Regions from separate parts of the Homo sapiens genome. Here regions 2 and 3 are each linked to region 1. Evidence: promoter capture Hi-C in human tissues and cell types (Jung and others, 2019). All regions are on one chromosome and are shown on one strand. The core of a region is centred on a gene start or on the middle of the fragment in contact, and the rest is flanking DNA. Distances in the headings are between cores, read along the strand shown. Region 1 holds the start of UBE2G1 (ubiquitin conjugating enzyme E2 G1). Region 2 overlaps ITGAE (integrin subunit alpha E). Region 3 holds the start of RNF167 (ring finger protein 167).

Evidence for each region. The method cuts DNA at HindIII sites, captures the fragments that hold promoters and counts their contacts. A contact is called where the count stands out against the background at its distance.
Region 2: a fragment that was not itself captured here is called in contact with the fragment with the promoter of UBE2G1 in region 1 in 1 of the 25 tissues and cell types used here (aorta).
Region 3: a contact is called between a fragment that was not itself captured here and the fragment with the promoter of UBE2G1 in region 1, in 1 of the 25 tissues and cell types used here (spleen).

What each region holds. Positions count from the first base shown.
Region 1 is chr17:4,364,365-4,368,859 of GRCh38, forward strand. UBE2G1 (ubiquitin conjugating enzyme E2 G1) reads right to left here and starts at 2,311. Exons shown (of 6, transcript NM_003342.5): 1 at 1,907-2,311. The coding sequence starts at 1,952. It also overlaps the pseudogene RN7SL774P. RefSeq lists silencers at 952-1,731, 1,782-2,481 and enhancers at 1,644-2,330, 2,150-2,444. The HindIII fragment of the contact is 21,131 bases long and covers 1-4,495 here.
Region 2 is chr17:3,791,553-3,796,047 of GRCh38, forward strand. All of the region lies in intron 1 of ITGAE (integrin subunit alpha E), which reads right to left. Among named protein-coding and RNA genes, the nearest start is that of ITGAE, 7.4 kb to the right of the region's middle. RefSeq lists enhancers at 278-367, 2,632-3,354, 3,355-4,076, 3,837-3,886, 3,940-4,495 and 1 more. The HindIII fragment of the contact is 5,173 bases long and covers 1-4,495 here.
Region 3 is chr17:4,940,085-4,944,579 of GRCh38, forward strand. It overlaps RNF167 (ring finger protein 167), which reads left to right and starts at 184. Exons shown (of 10, transcript NM_015528.3): 1 at 184-276; 2 at 403-909; 3 at 993-1,073; 4 at 2,257-2,382; 5 at 2,493-2,580; 6 at 2,767-2,857; 7 at 3,095-3,200; 8 at 3,342-3,435; 9 at 4,474-4,495. The coding sequence starts at 826. RefSeq lists enhancers at 12-81, 962-1,091, 4,128-4,495, 4,306-4,355 and a silencer at 434-628. The HindIII fragment of the contact is 4,639 bases long and covers 927-4,495 here.

The DNA of each region.
Region 1 (4,495 bases), core at 1,061-3,560:
ACTGCACATCCGCCTCCCGGGTTCACGCCATTCTCCTGCCTCAGCCTCCCGATTAGCTGGGACTACAGGCGCCCGCCACCACGCCCGGCTAATTTTTGGATTTTTAGTAGAGAAAGGGTTTCCCCGTGTTAGCCAGGATGGTCTCGATCTCCTGACCTCGTGATCCGCCCGCCTCGGCCTCCCAAAGTGCTGGGATTACAGGTGTGAGCCACCGCGCCCGGCCCTTCTTTTTTTTGAACAGAGTCTCGCTCTGTTGCCCAGGCTGGAAAGCAATGGCGCGATCTCAGCTCACTGCAACGATGCCTCCCGCGTTCAAGCAATTCTCCCGCCTCAGCCTCCTGAGTAGCTGGGATTACAGGCGCCCTCCGCCACGCCCGAATAATTTTTTGTATTTTTAGTAGTGACGGGGGTTTCACCACTTTGGCCAGGCTGGCCCTGAACTCCTGTCCTAAGGTGATCCGCCAGCCTCGGCCTCCCGAAGTGCTGGGATTACAGGCGTGAGCCAGCGCGCCCGGCCTCAGTGCTTTTCCAGCACATAATTTTTATGAGTATCCTGTAGTATCATTAGAACTTCTCCATTTACTGCAAGCTAACTCCCCCTGAGCATCTAGAACTTTAATACTTGTCCAAACCTGCTTGCTCATGGTCTAATAATAAACCCAATTATACAATCTGTAAGAACCCCTGACAACCTTTTCCTTAAGAAGCCATAAAGGTGATTTAACGAACACCTCAAACTCTTAGTAAATGTATTTCAAAAACAGATTTCATCACTCCAGTCTTTGGCTTCTGCTGAGGGCTAGAGGCTACTGGTTTTAGAGTGGGTAGGGGGAAGATCGCTTGAACTGAGAATGACACACGCCGGGTGTTGTACAGCAGGGGTAAGTGCTGGTTCATTTCTCTTTAAATCTGGCAGCACGTGGGGCTGCATTGTGAAGCCACCAACCCGCCTCCCCCCTTCCACTCCGCACACGGACGTCTCCACTGCGCATGCTCCGCGCACACAGTCCTAGCAGAGTAGGAGCCAACCCCCTAAAAAGTCAACCTGGAAGCCGCAAACGGCCGGAGGCCGGGACAATGGGGGAGGGGGGCCGCAGGCTCCTCGGGGAGGCCGACCCGGCCGCCGCCCCGGGCCAGAGCCTGCGGGCGCAGCTCCGGGGTTTGCAGGCCTGCGCAGCAGCCGGAATCGCGGCGAGCACAAAGCCCGGAGCCGGCCAGCGAGCGGCTCTCCCCGCGGCCCGCTCCTACCCTCCCCCAGCCGGGCGGCGCAGCCGGAGCCCGTGCCAGGCGGAGGCAGGCGAGGCGGCGATCCGCACTCCGCCAGGGTCTCCGGCACCCTCGCGCCCGCGTGGAGGCCGCCGAGGCCAGCGCTTTTGTTGTCGGCCCCAACTCCGCGGACCCAGCGCCGCCCGGGGAGAAGTTTTGTGCGCCTCACCTATCCCGCCAGGGCCGGTCCCTTCCGCCCGCCCTCAGACACCGAGCCGGGGACTCGCAGCCGCACTGGGTCCGGACGCTCCAGCCGGCCCCGAAGGTCCGGCGGCCCCGGCAGCACCTGAACCCGGGACCCGCCCCTCCAAGCTGGCGGCCCCGGCCTGGGGACCCGCACACAGCCCCTCCCCCGCAACGTCCTACAGAACGGTGGGGGAGGGGACCTCCTCCTCTCCGACCCCCCGGGCGCCAGGCCCAGTCCCTGGGCCGGAGCTGGGTCGCGTCCCCGCCCCCAGTGCCCTCCAAGAGCCGGGCGAGAACGGCTGGGCCCGGCCGGGACCGGAGCCTCGAGGTCCCCACCCTCGCAGGCCCGGGCCCCTTCGGCAGTACGGCCGCTGGCCCGGGAGGAGAAGAGGGACTGGGCTGCGGCTGTCCGCGATCGCGGCCGGGCCCGGCGCCCCGCCGCCCGCCTGCTCACCTGCCAGCTGTCTTCGCAGTAGCAGTGCCGACTGCAGCTCCGTCATCCTCCCTGCCGAGGGCCCGGGCTGGCGCCGGGGCTTCCGAAGGGCTGGGGACAGGCTCTGGGGGCGGCTGGAGCGGGGTGTGCCGAGGAACCCGGGCCCCGCGACCGGAGCGCCGGAGCCGAGGAAGGCCGGGCTGAGGCGGCGGGAGCGGCGCCTCGCTGCCGGTGCGAGTCCGCTCGCTTCAGCTCTTTTCACAGCGACTCACGCCCGGAAGGGGAGGGTGCCCGGGCTGCCGCGGCGCGCACTGGGACTTCGCTCGCCCGCTTCCCTCCTTCAACCCGCCCGTCGGCCCCACCGGTGCCTTCCCCCGCCACTGCCTCACTGCGCGCAGGGCCGCTCGGCGCAGGCGCGCTGAGACTGCCGACTTGGGAAGCGTCCCGCCCGCTAGCCCGACCCCTCGGCCTCCCGCCCCGCCCCCGGCGGCGGAACCCCGCCCCTTGAGCGCAGTTGTCCCGTCCGCCGCCATTTTGGGAAGGTCGACGCCCGGCTGCCAGCCCAAGCCTCCGCTGGTAGACGCCCCGCGGACGCCATGACAAAGAGGTCGCAGAGGGTCAAATACAGCCTCTGGATTGAAGCAGTGGATATAGGAGCGAAGAGGCCAGAAGAAGTGGTAGATGTCTAGTCCTTGGCGAGCGCCCAAAAGCCATCTAACACTGCCACATGGTGTGCGAAGTAGGAATTGTTAGAAAGCCGAAGTTAGTACTGGTGTGCCCCATTTTAACCAAACATCAAAATAGAGGCAATATATGATGATAACTCACTTTACATGAAGAGTGCACAAAAAAAGCCACCGCGTCCGGCCCTATTATTATTGAGCCACCGAGACCGGCCCTGTTATTATTATCATTTATGGACGGCAATTCTCTCTGTCGCCCAGGCTGGAGTGCAGTGATCATAGCTCACTGCAGCTTGGAACTCCTGGGCTTAAGGGATCCTCCCATCTGAGTCTCCTTAGTATCTGGGATTACAGGTACACACCACCATGCCCTGCTATTTTTTTATTTGCTTTATAGAGATCGGGGGGTTTGACGGGGCGCGGTGGCTCATGCTTGTAATCCCAGCACTTTGAGAGGCCGAGGTGGGCAGATCACCTGAGGTCACGAGTTCGAGACCATCCTGGCCAACATGGTGAAACCTGGTCTCTACTAAAAATACAAAAATTAGCCCAGCCTGGTGGCAGGCGCCTGTACTCCCAGCTACCAGGGAGGCTGAGAAAGGAGAATTGCTTGAACCTAGGAGGCAGAGATTGCAGTGAGCCGAGATGGTGCCACTGCACTCCAGCATGGCCGACAGAGAGAGACTCCGTCTCACAAAAAAAAAAAAAAAGGAGGGGGGGGCCAGAGGTCTCTCTGTGTTGCCCAGGCTGGTCTCAAACTCCTGGGTTCAAGCAGTCCTTCCAACTCGGCCTCCCAAAGTGTTAGCATTACAAGTGTGAACCACTGCCCCCTATCAAATAGACCAAAGGGACCATTTTGATATTTCACTTTACCAAATCAAGGAAATTTACTTCTATTCCTAGTTTCTTTCTTTTTTATTTTATTTATTTATTTATTTATTTTTTGAGACAGCCTTGTTCTGTCGCCCAGGCTGGAGTGCAGTGGCGTGATCTTGGCCCACTGCAACCTCTGCCTCTCAGGTTCCCGAGTTAAAGCAATTCTCCTGCCTCAGACTCCTGAGTAGCTGGGACTACAGGCGCACGCCTCCAGGCCAGGCTAATTTTCTTTCGTATTTTAGTAGAGATGGGGTTTTACCATGTTGCCCAGGCTGGTCTCGAACTCCTGAACTCAGGCAATCCGCCTGCCTCAGCCTCCCAAAATGCTAGGATTATAGGCAAGGGCCACTGTGCCCGGCCTATTCCTAGTTTCTTAAGATTTATTTTTTGTAAAAAAAAAAAAAAAAAAGATTTATTTTTTGTAATAATTTCCAAATCTGGTGAAAGATCAGGGCTGGATAAAGGTTTAGAAATTGAACCTAATCCTTAAACAGTGGGAGGCCCCTGAAAAGTTTTAACTAGGAGTAGAAAAATAGCAGACTTGCATTTTGAATGTTTTGCTGTGGCTGCAGAGAATTGATGAGGGAGGGAGGGTCAAGACCAGTGCCCTGCAGGCTGTGGTGGCTCTCATCTGTAATCCCAGCTCTTTGGAAACTCCACGCAGGAGGATCACTTGAGGCCAGGAGCTAGAGACTAGCCTGGGTGACAGAGCAAGACCCTATCGCTACAAAAAAGTGTGTTTTGTTTTGTTTTGAAACAGTCTCCCTCTGTCGCCCAGGCTGGAGTACAGTGGCACAATCTCAGGTCACTGCACCTCTGCCTCCCTGGTTCAAGTGATTCTCGTGCCTCAGCCTCCTGAGTGGCAGGGATTACAGGCCTGTGCCACCATGGCTGGAGAATTTTTGTATTTTCGGTAGAGACAGAGTTTCACCATGTTGGCCAGGCTGGTCTTGAACTCCTGGGCTCAAGTGATCCACCCGCCTCAGCCTCCTAAAGTGATGGAATTGCAGGCATGAGCCACTATGCCCAGCCCAAAATATTTTTTTAATAA
Region 2 (4,495 bases), core at 1,149-3,648, 570 kb before region 1:
GATTACAGGTGTGAGCCACCACGCCCGGCCCTTCATGTTCTTTAGAAATGAAAATGTCCATGTTTTTTGGGAGTGAAATGACACGATGTTTGGGGTTTAAAATACTGTTTCTGAAACATTAGCGTGCAAATGAGTCATCGGAGATCTTGTTAAAATGCAGATTCTGACTCAGCAGATAATGAATCAGAATGGGGCTGGGAGTCTGTTCCAACAAGCTCCCAGACGATGCTCTCACTGCTGGTCCTCAGGTCACATTTTGAGCAGCCAGGCTTTAAATACCTTGACAACAAAAATGAAAAGGGGAACACAAAATACATTCAGCTTGTGTGGCAGGATCTTGATCATTGTGTCATCCGCTTGATGGACATATTGGCTTTGTTATAGTTATCTCGTTTACCTGTGTACATGCTTAAAATTTTATTATCCAAAAATCAACCTTCCAGACTTGAGGAGGAGGAGGAACCTGGGGAGATGGCTCTGAGGCCAGGCTCTGGATCTCTCATCCCTGCATTTAAGGCCATTTCCCTGAGTCTGGCACAAAGTAGATATCTATATTTAATTTTATTTTATTTATGTATTTATTTTTTGAGATGGAGTCTGGCCCTGTTGCCCAGGCTGGAGGGCAGTGGCGCGATCTCGGCTCACTGCAGCCTCTGCCTCCCGGGTTCAAGCGATTCTCCTGCCTCGGCCTCCTGAGTAGCTGGGATTATAGGCACGCACCACCACACCTGGATAATTTTTGTATTTTTAGTAGAGGTGGGGTTTCACCATATTGCCCAGGCTGGTATTGAACTCCTCAGGTGATCCGCCCGCCTTGGCCTCCCAAAGTGCTGGGATTACACGCGTGAGCCACCGCGCCCGGCCTGATATCTATATTTTATTCCTTTTTCTTCACATCTCTGCCTCGCCTGGAATGATTTGTGGTGATTCATAAAAATACATAATACAGGTAAGATAAAACTCGCTTAAAATAATGGGGCAGGCAAAAAAGAACAGAAGGAAAATGATGGTTTAAAAAAAGAGGGGGATACAACAAGCCAGGAAGGAGGCCAACAGCTAACATGTAGATCACGCAGTGCCAGCACTTTCTATCACGTGCCCCACTGTTGGCTCTGAACACAGCGCTGGCTCACAGAAGTGTTCCTAAAATCCTTTGGCTTAATAAAATCATTTGTTGATTCAACGCATACATGAATGAATGAAGCTTTCTTGAAGGTGATATCAACATGAAAAAGATCAGTTAATGCCATGCGGTGTCCACAAAATTCAAAAAACAAAACACTTCCAGGCAAAGCACAACCAGTCTGGTTATTCAAATCAGAGAAAAAACTGTCCCTAAGGGTCCTTTGTGAGAACACAATGAAGAAACCCTGCACCCCAGCTTTTGCAGACCTGTGATTTGTGTCCTCCCTGCCAATGCCCCAAAGTAGAAAACACAGGAAACATAACCAGACCAGACGTTCTTGTTTGGGGGTAATGGATCCCTTTGAGAATCTTTTTCTTTTTTCTTTTTTTTTTAGACAGAGTCTCACTCTGTCGCCCAGGCTGGAATGCAGTGGCACAACTTTCGTCTCACTGCAACCTCCGCCTCCCGGGTTCAAGCGATTCTCCTGCCTCAGCCTCCTGAGTAGCTGGGAAAACAGGTGCCCATCACCATGCCCAGCTAATTTTTTGTATTTTTAGTAGAGATGGGGTTTCGCCATATTGGCCAGGCTGGTCTCCATCTCCTGACGTCCTGATCCACCTGCCTCAGCCTCCAAAGTGCTGGGATTACAGGTGTGAGCCATCATGCCCGGCCTTTTTTTCTTCATTTTGAGTTGGAGTCTCACTCTGTCACCCAGGCTGGACTGCAATGGTGTGATCTTGGCTCACCGCAACCCCCACCTCCTCAGTTCAAGTGATTCTCCTGTCTCACGTGGGCCCTGGGGCCGGAGCCCAGACTCCCTACTGGGCATCCCTTATCTCAGCTCTGGATTCGTGGGGGAGCAGCAGGAACAGTACAGCCTTCTTCCCTGCCTAGGGGTCTTGATCTGGAACCTTTGAGAGTCTATGTAGGCTGTAAGTGGCCACTCTCCCAGCACCTACCGAGTGTAGGCCAGGACTCAAAATACTGGGTCTCTGGAGTAGCTGGGACTACAGGCACATGCCAGCACTCCTGGCTAATTTTTGTATTTTTAGTAGAGATGTGGTTTCACCGTGTTAGCCGGGATGGTCTCGAACTCCTGGCCTCGTGATCCACCACCTTGGCCTCCCAAAGTGCTGGGATTACAGGTGTGAGCCACTGCACCTGGCCCCCTTTGAGAATCTGATGGAAGCATTGGAGCCCTTCCTGATCCCCTGAGTGCACATGTGTACAAAATCCTCCCCTTGCCTGATTGAAGTGCTCTGTCCTCAGCCTGTCTCCTGGCTTCCTCTTCATCCTTTTTTTTTTTTTTTTTTTTTTGAGATGGAGTCTTGCTATTGTCGCCCAGGCTGGAGTGCAATGGCACGATCTCGGCTCATTGCAACCTCCGCCTCCTGGGTTCAAGCGATTCTCCTGCCTAAGCCTCCCAAGTAGCTGGGATTACAGGCACCTGCCACCACACCGGACTAATTTTTGTATTTTTAGTAGAGACGGGGTTTTGCCATGTTGGTCAGGCTGGTCTTGAACTCCTGACCTTGTGATCCGCCCGCCTCGGCCTCCTAAAGTGCTGGAATTACAGGCGTGAGCCACCGTGCCTGGCCTCTAATTTTTTTTTAAATTTTTTGTAGAGATGGGGGTCTTGCTATGTTGTCCAGGCTGGACTCAAATTCCTGGGCTCAAGTGATCCTCCAGTCTTGGCCTCCCTAAGTGCTGGGATTACAGGAGTGAGCCACTGTGCTTGGCCTTCCTTGTTTCCCTATTGCCAGTGACTGCCCCCTGCCACCAGTGAGTCCAAGGGGGCACACACTGCATCTGCCTCGATCGCCACATTATCTCAGGGCCTGGCATGGTGGCCCACCCTCGGTAGGTGCTGGGAGAGTGGCCACTTACAGCCTACATAGACTCTCAAAGGTTCCAGATCAAGACCCCTAGGCAGGGAAGAAGGCCGTACTGTTCCCGCTGCTCCCCCACGAATCCAGAACTGAGATAAAGGACGCCCAGTAGGGAGTCTGGGCTCCGGCCCCGGGGCCCACGTCACGTTGAGCCCTGTGCCTCCTGGTCAGTCACTCTGGGGAAAAAACAGGACGTCAGCAAACTGCCTAGAGGAGAATTAAAAAGTGCGAGCTGCCAACATGTTACGAGGGGTGGGTGGGGGGCCTTCTTCCCCCCGTTTCACTGTCGGTATAACTGAAAAGGCACGAGTGGAGGCCGCAGAGCAAAGTCCAGTCTCCTCTCCTGGGCGTCCGTGGCACCCCCCCGCTCTGCCCGGCGCACCCTCTGCACACTCCTGCCTCCAGGCCTCGACACAGCGGCTCCCTCCACCCAGCAGGCCTGCTCAGCACTCTCCACCTCTGTCTGCAAAGCCCGTCTTTTGTGGCCCTGCTCAGCCAGCCAGGAGCCAGGAGCCAATCCAGACTCAGTCAGAGTAACTCCCGGGTCCCTGAGCCCCCTCAGCACCCTGTGGTCTGTCTGGCTCTGACCAAACCCTGAGCCCCCTCAGCATCCTGTGGTCTGTCTGGCTGTGACCAAATTCTGTCTGGATCAGGGTGATCTGTGATTCAGTTTGTCTGCCCTGAACTGTGATGTGATCTGAGTCACACACAACACCCCCAGCCACAGAGCCCAGCTCAGCGCAGGGCCAGGCCCACCCAAAAAAGGTGCTCTAAAAAGGTCAGAGTGGGCCAGATATTCCCTTTCCTCACGCCACCCCACCCCTGTGTTCACTTTGTTCAACAGAGATCTTGTTCAACTGAGGGTTCCGCTCCCCCAGAGCACCTGTTGCCTTCCAGGCACCACGCTAGGTGCTGAGGCTCAGAGAGGGGTGTGGTTTGTGCATGGCCCGTCGGAAGATTGAATATTTGTGTCTGGGGCTCAGATTCTGTGTTTATGCCCGATTTCAAAGCCTTTAGTAATAGCTGGAGGCACCGAGGGGTTGGTAAACAGAGAGAGGCCAGGGTCACAAATGGCCTCAAGAAGCTGGGCACTGCTCCTGCCGTGCGGCGGCTCACTGAGCTGGAGCAGGGCTCTGCTTACAGGGCTGGTAACTAGGTCAGCAAGAGCCTGCCGCAGAGGCACGGTGGCATGAGACTGTGTACGTGCGTGTGTGCATGTGTGTGCATCCGTGTGTGCTTGTGTGCATCCGTGTGCATCCCTGTGTGTGCATGTGTGCATCTGTGTGTGTGCATCCATGTGCATCCGTGTGCGTGTGCATCCGTGTGTGTGCATCTGTGTATGCGCATCCGTGTGTGTGCATCCGTGTGTGTGCATCCGTGTGTGCATCCCTGTGTGTGCGTGTGTGCATCCGTGTGTGCATCTGTGTGTGCATCCGTGTGTGCATCCATGTGCGCGTGTGTGCGTGTGCATCCGTGTGTG
Region 3 (4,495 bases), core at 1,996-4,495, 580 kb after region 1:
GTAAGGCGGAGCTGAAGGAGGAGCTTGATGGAAGCGTGCGAGAAGGGGCGTAACTGATTTGGAAACCAGAGGAAAGGCGCTGTTTTCACCGAATTAGAATCGCGGGAAAATAGAGAAGAGTTTGTTTGAAGGTCTCGCGAGATCGAGTGAGTACGGCTCGCCAAGTTGGAGCGCTCTCGCGATAGACACAGCAACTATTCAGCTGCGAGGGGACGGGAGAGGTGGTGAGCACTCTCGCGAGATTTGAAGGAGCGGCGGAGGCCAGAGGGAGGAGAGGTTTGTAAACTAGGAGGCTCCGGGTTTCCGGGCACTTTTATTAGGTCGTCTTCTGGGCCACCAGTGCCCCTTCCATCTCCACAGGCAGTCCCTCCATCGCTAACCTTTTTTTAACCGGCCTTTTAGGACCGGAAGTCCTTCATCTCAAGCATCCAATGCTGAAAGCGGCCTGATTTTCTCTACCGGAAGCCCTTTTCCAGAGGCTGGGAACACGGCCCACCTAGCAGGAAGTCCCACCTCCTTGAGCTCCGCCACCCTTCCCGAAGTTTTTCTGTCACCTGTGTTAGGCTCCGTCCCCTTTCCGCGTTTTATCCCCGTACCAGAAAAGGATACATTTAGTGCCTCCCACCCAGCTCCACTAAACGGGTTGGATATCTCATTCTTTGAGTTGGTGTTCCTTCCCCGGCGCCCCCATGTAGCTGGGAAGTGGGACCTGGGGGTGGTTGGACCCCTGGGATCCTAAAGGAGGGGCAGGGAGGGCGCAGAACTCCGCTTCTGCTCCTTGCTACCAGGACGCGCGGCCTCCTCAGCCTCTTTCCTCCCGCTGCCATGCACCCTGCAGCCTTCCCGCTTCCTGTGGTTGTGGCCGCTGTGCTGTGGGGAGCGGCCCCGACCCGGGGGCTCATTCGAGCGGTGAGTCTGAGGGACGGATGGGGAAAGGGCGCTGAAAGGAAGGGTTGCAGGCTGAAGGGGAACATCGCCTTTTTTGTCCGCAGACCTCGGACCACAATGCCAGCATGGACTTTGCAGACCTTCCAGCTCTGTTTGGGGCTACCTTGAGCCAGGAGGGCCTCCAGGTGATTTTCTTTCTTTTCTTTTCCTCCTTCCCTCCCTTCCTTCCTTTTCTGTCTTTTTTCTTTTTTTAGTATTTCGCAAGATCCTCCATCCTAGGCTGGGGTTGGGGAGGTTTGTCCTGGGTGAAACTGGAGGTAGGAAAATGAAGTTAGGAACTGAGCACGTCTAGTGTAGAACCCAGAATCTAGAGGGAGAAGACAGAGTGTCCACCCCTGGAACTCCGAGGTTATCAGGGAGACTGAAAGTGGACGAAGACAGAAGGCAGGATCAACGGTCCTTATCAGGAAGGTCTCAGGTGCTAGTTATTGCTTATATGACTTTGGGCAAGTTAATCTCTCTGAGCCTTAGTTTGTTTTACTGTAAAATGGGATATTAGAAGTTTTCCTAGGGTTATTGTGAAGATCAAAGTAGATACGCAATTTTGGTAGTATTTCATCCCAAAGACTGCCACATAGCAAGAACTCAGTTGGGCCTTAGTAGCAGTCGAGTTGTTTGTGAGATGGGTAATTAGAAAATTGAAGAGGCCGGGCGCGGTGGCTCACATCTGTAATCCCAGTTCAAGACCAGCCTGGCCAACATGGAGAAACCCTATCTCTACTAAAATGGCAAAAATTAGCTGGGCGTGATGGTGCACGCATGTAGTCCCAACTACTTGGGAGGCTGAGGCAGGAGAATCACTTGAAACCGGAAGGTGGAGGTTGCAGTGAGCCGAGATCGCGCCACTGCACTCCAGCCTGGGTGACAAAACGAGACTCCATCTCAAAAAAAAGAAAAACAAAAAGAAAACTGAAGGGAGGGGAGTGTGTCTGTATGAGTATGTGCTGGAGAGGGGACTGTGAAACAGAACTTGAGAGAAAGTGACATGGGTGGTTTGAGAATTGAATTACAATTGGAATATTAGAAGGCAAAAATAATTGCATTAGCTTGCAGTATAGGGTACAGATTAGCCCATCTGGGACAGCGAGAGGGATGATGGGAGAGTTTGGTGAAGGGATGTTTTATGTCATTGCCTTTTCAAGAGGCTAAGAGAAGGTTGTGATGGTGGGATGCTCACTCAGACCCCAGGAAGGAGGAGGAAGTGAGGATAGAGGATGTGCAGCATGTGGGCTGGTGTGTTTGGTGGCCCCTGTAGAGAGCAGAATCTAGAAAGGAGAAATCTCACTGTTGTTTGCTTCCATCCTTCAGGGGTTCCTTGTGGAGGCTCACCCAGACAATGCCTGCAGCCCCATTGCCCCACCACCCCCAGCCCCGGTCAATGGGTCAGTCTTTATTGCGCTGCTTCGAAGATTCGACTGCAACTTTGACCTCAAGGTTGCTGAATGAGGAAGGGGAGCTGGGCAGCTGAGGGTAAAAAAAAGGCACCAGGAATGAAGACAGGTAAGGCCCATGATGGCTCCTTGTCCTCTGCCTTGTCTCCCTAGGTCCTAAATGCCCAGAAGGCTGGATATGGTGCCGCTGTAGTACACAATGTGAATTCCAATGAACTTCTGAACATGGTGTGGAATAGTGGTAAGGCTGGGGGAATCTATACAGCTGGGCTTTCAGTAGGACCCAGAGATGGTGGGAAGGCTGAAGGCCTCAGGAAAAGAAGCCAATCCTTTAGGTGGGGTGGGGCCAAAGTGCAAGATGCCAGGGTTCCCAGAGGATTTGAGTAGAAGGTTGTGAGTCCCCAGAGTAACACCTTGATCCCTGCAGAGGAAATCCAGCAGCAGATCTGGATCCCGTCTGTATTTATTGGGGAGAGAAGCTCCGAGTACCTGCGTGCCCTCTTTGTCTACGAGAAGGGGTAGGACATGTGCCTCCTTCCCATTCTTCCTTCAGCAAGCAGTTCCATGCCAACCTGGAGCCCAGGCCTCCTCATTACCCGAACCATTCAGCCTCCTGTCCTTCCTTCCCTGCCTCTTTGACTTTCTTCCCATTCCTGTCCCCACCTATGGGCTTTGTCCAGAGCCAGTTACTTTGTCCCTCTTTTTTTCTCCCTTTGCCTTTCTCGCCCTGCTGAGACTGGTCATCCTTTTCCCAGGGCTCGGGTGCTTCTGGTTCCAGACAATACCTTCCCCTTGGGCTATTACCTCATCCCTTTCACAGGGATTGTGGGACTGCTGGTTTTGGCCATGGGAGCAGTAATGGTGAGTAGCTGAGGGAACATGATGGGAAGCACTGAGGCCTGTGAGGCCAGACTGGATCTGGAGTTGGGAGATGGGAGTGGCTTGTCCTAGATTGTCTAGTTTTGTTCCTAAGCCTTGTCCATCCACCCCCGCTTCCCCCAGATAGCTCGTTGTATCCAGCACCGGAAACGGCTCCAGCGGAATCGACTTACCAAAGAGCAACTGAAACAGATTCCTACACATGACTATCAGAAGGGTGAGGGGGTTAGGGGAGAAGAGGGCTTTTCCCACAGTTTACCTGGTTCTGAAGGACTTTGAGCCCAGAAGATAGGGTATACAAAGATGGCAGTGGCCGGGCACAGTGGCTCACGTAATCCCAAGTGCCTCTAATCCCAGTACTTTGGGAGGCCAAGGTGGGCAGGTCACTTGAGCCCAGGAGTTTGAGACCAGCCTGGGTGACATGATAAAACAGAAAAGTCCCAGCACTTTAGGAGGCTGAGGCAAGTGGATCCCTTGACCCCGGGAGTTCAGGCCAGCCTGGGCAATGTGGTGAGACCCCATCTCTATAAAAAAATAAAATTAGCTGGGCATGGTGGTGTGCACTTGTAGTCCCAGCTAATTGGGAGACTGAGACAGGAGAATCACTTGAACCAGGAAGGCGGAGGTTGTCGGGGGCTGAGATTGCACCACTGTGCTCCAGCCTGGGCGACAGAGGGAGTCCCTTTCTCAAAAAAATAATAATAAAAATAAAGATGGCAGTAGGAAGGTTTCAGCTTGAGATGCTGTCTTTTCTTCTGTTTTTATGCATAAATACAACGAAGACGGGAGAGGAGATGGAAAGCAAAGATGATTAAGTGAAATAATTGTGGGAAACAATAGAGGGATAGACTTTGCTTATAGGGGATGTGGACAGAGCAGAAAAATGGGAGGAATGGGGAGGATTCAGTTAGAGAAGGAAGAAACCGGTACCAAGGGGCTGGGGCTTTAGGCCCTGGGGCCTCCAGTGCCCGTATAAGGCTGTGGCAGAAGCCCTGCCCATTTCCGTTCCTTCCACTCCCTATCTCCACCCTCACACCTCCCCAAAAACCCACTTCCCTTCTTACCTCTGCTTCTCTTTGCTTGTCCCTTCTAGCCCTAAATTCTTCCATGTTCTGCCCTGACCTTATCCTGCCTACCTGTCTTATCTCTTCCACTGGCTTTGTAGGTGAGGGGAAATTTTTGCAAGGCTTTAAAAGCCTTAGCCCTGGGTCATTGTGGCTCAGTGAAGGACTAGATTATTTTCTTTCTGTCCCAGGAGACCAGTATGATGTCTGTGC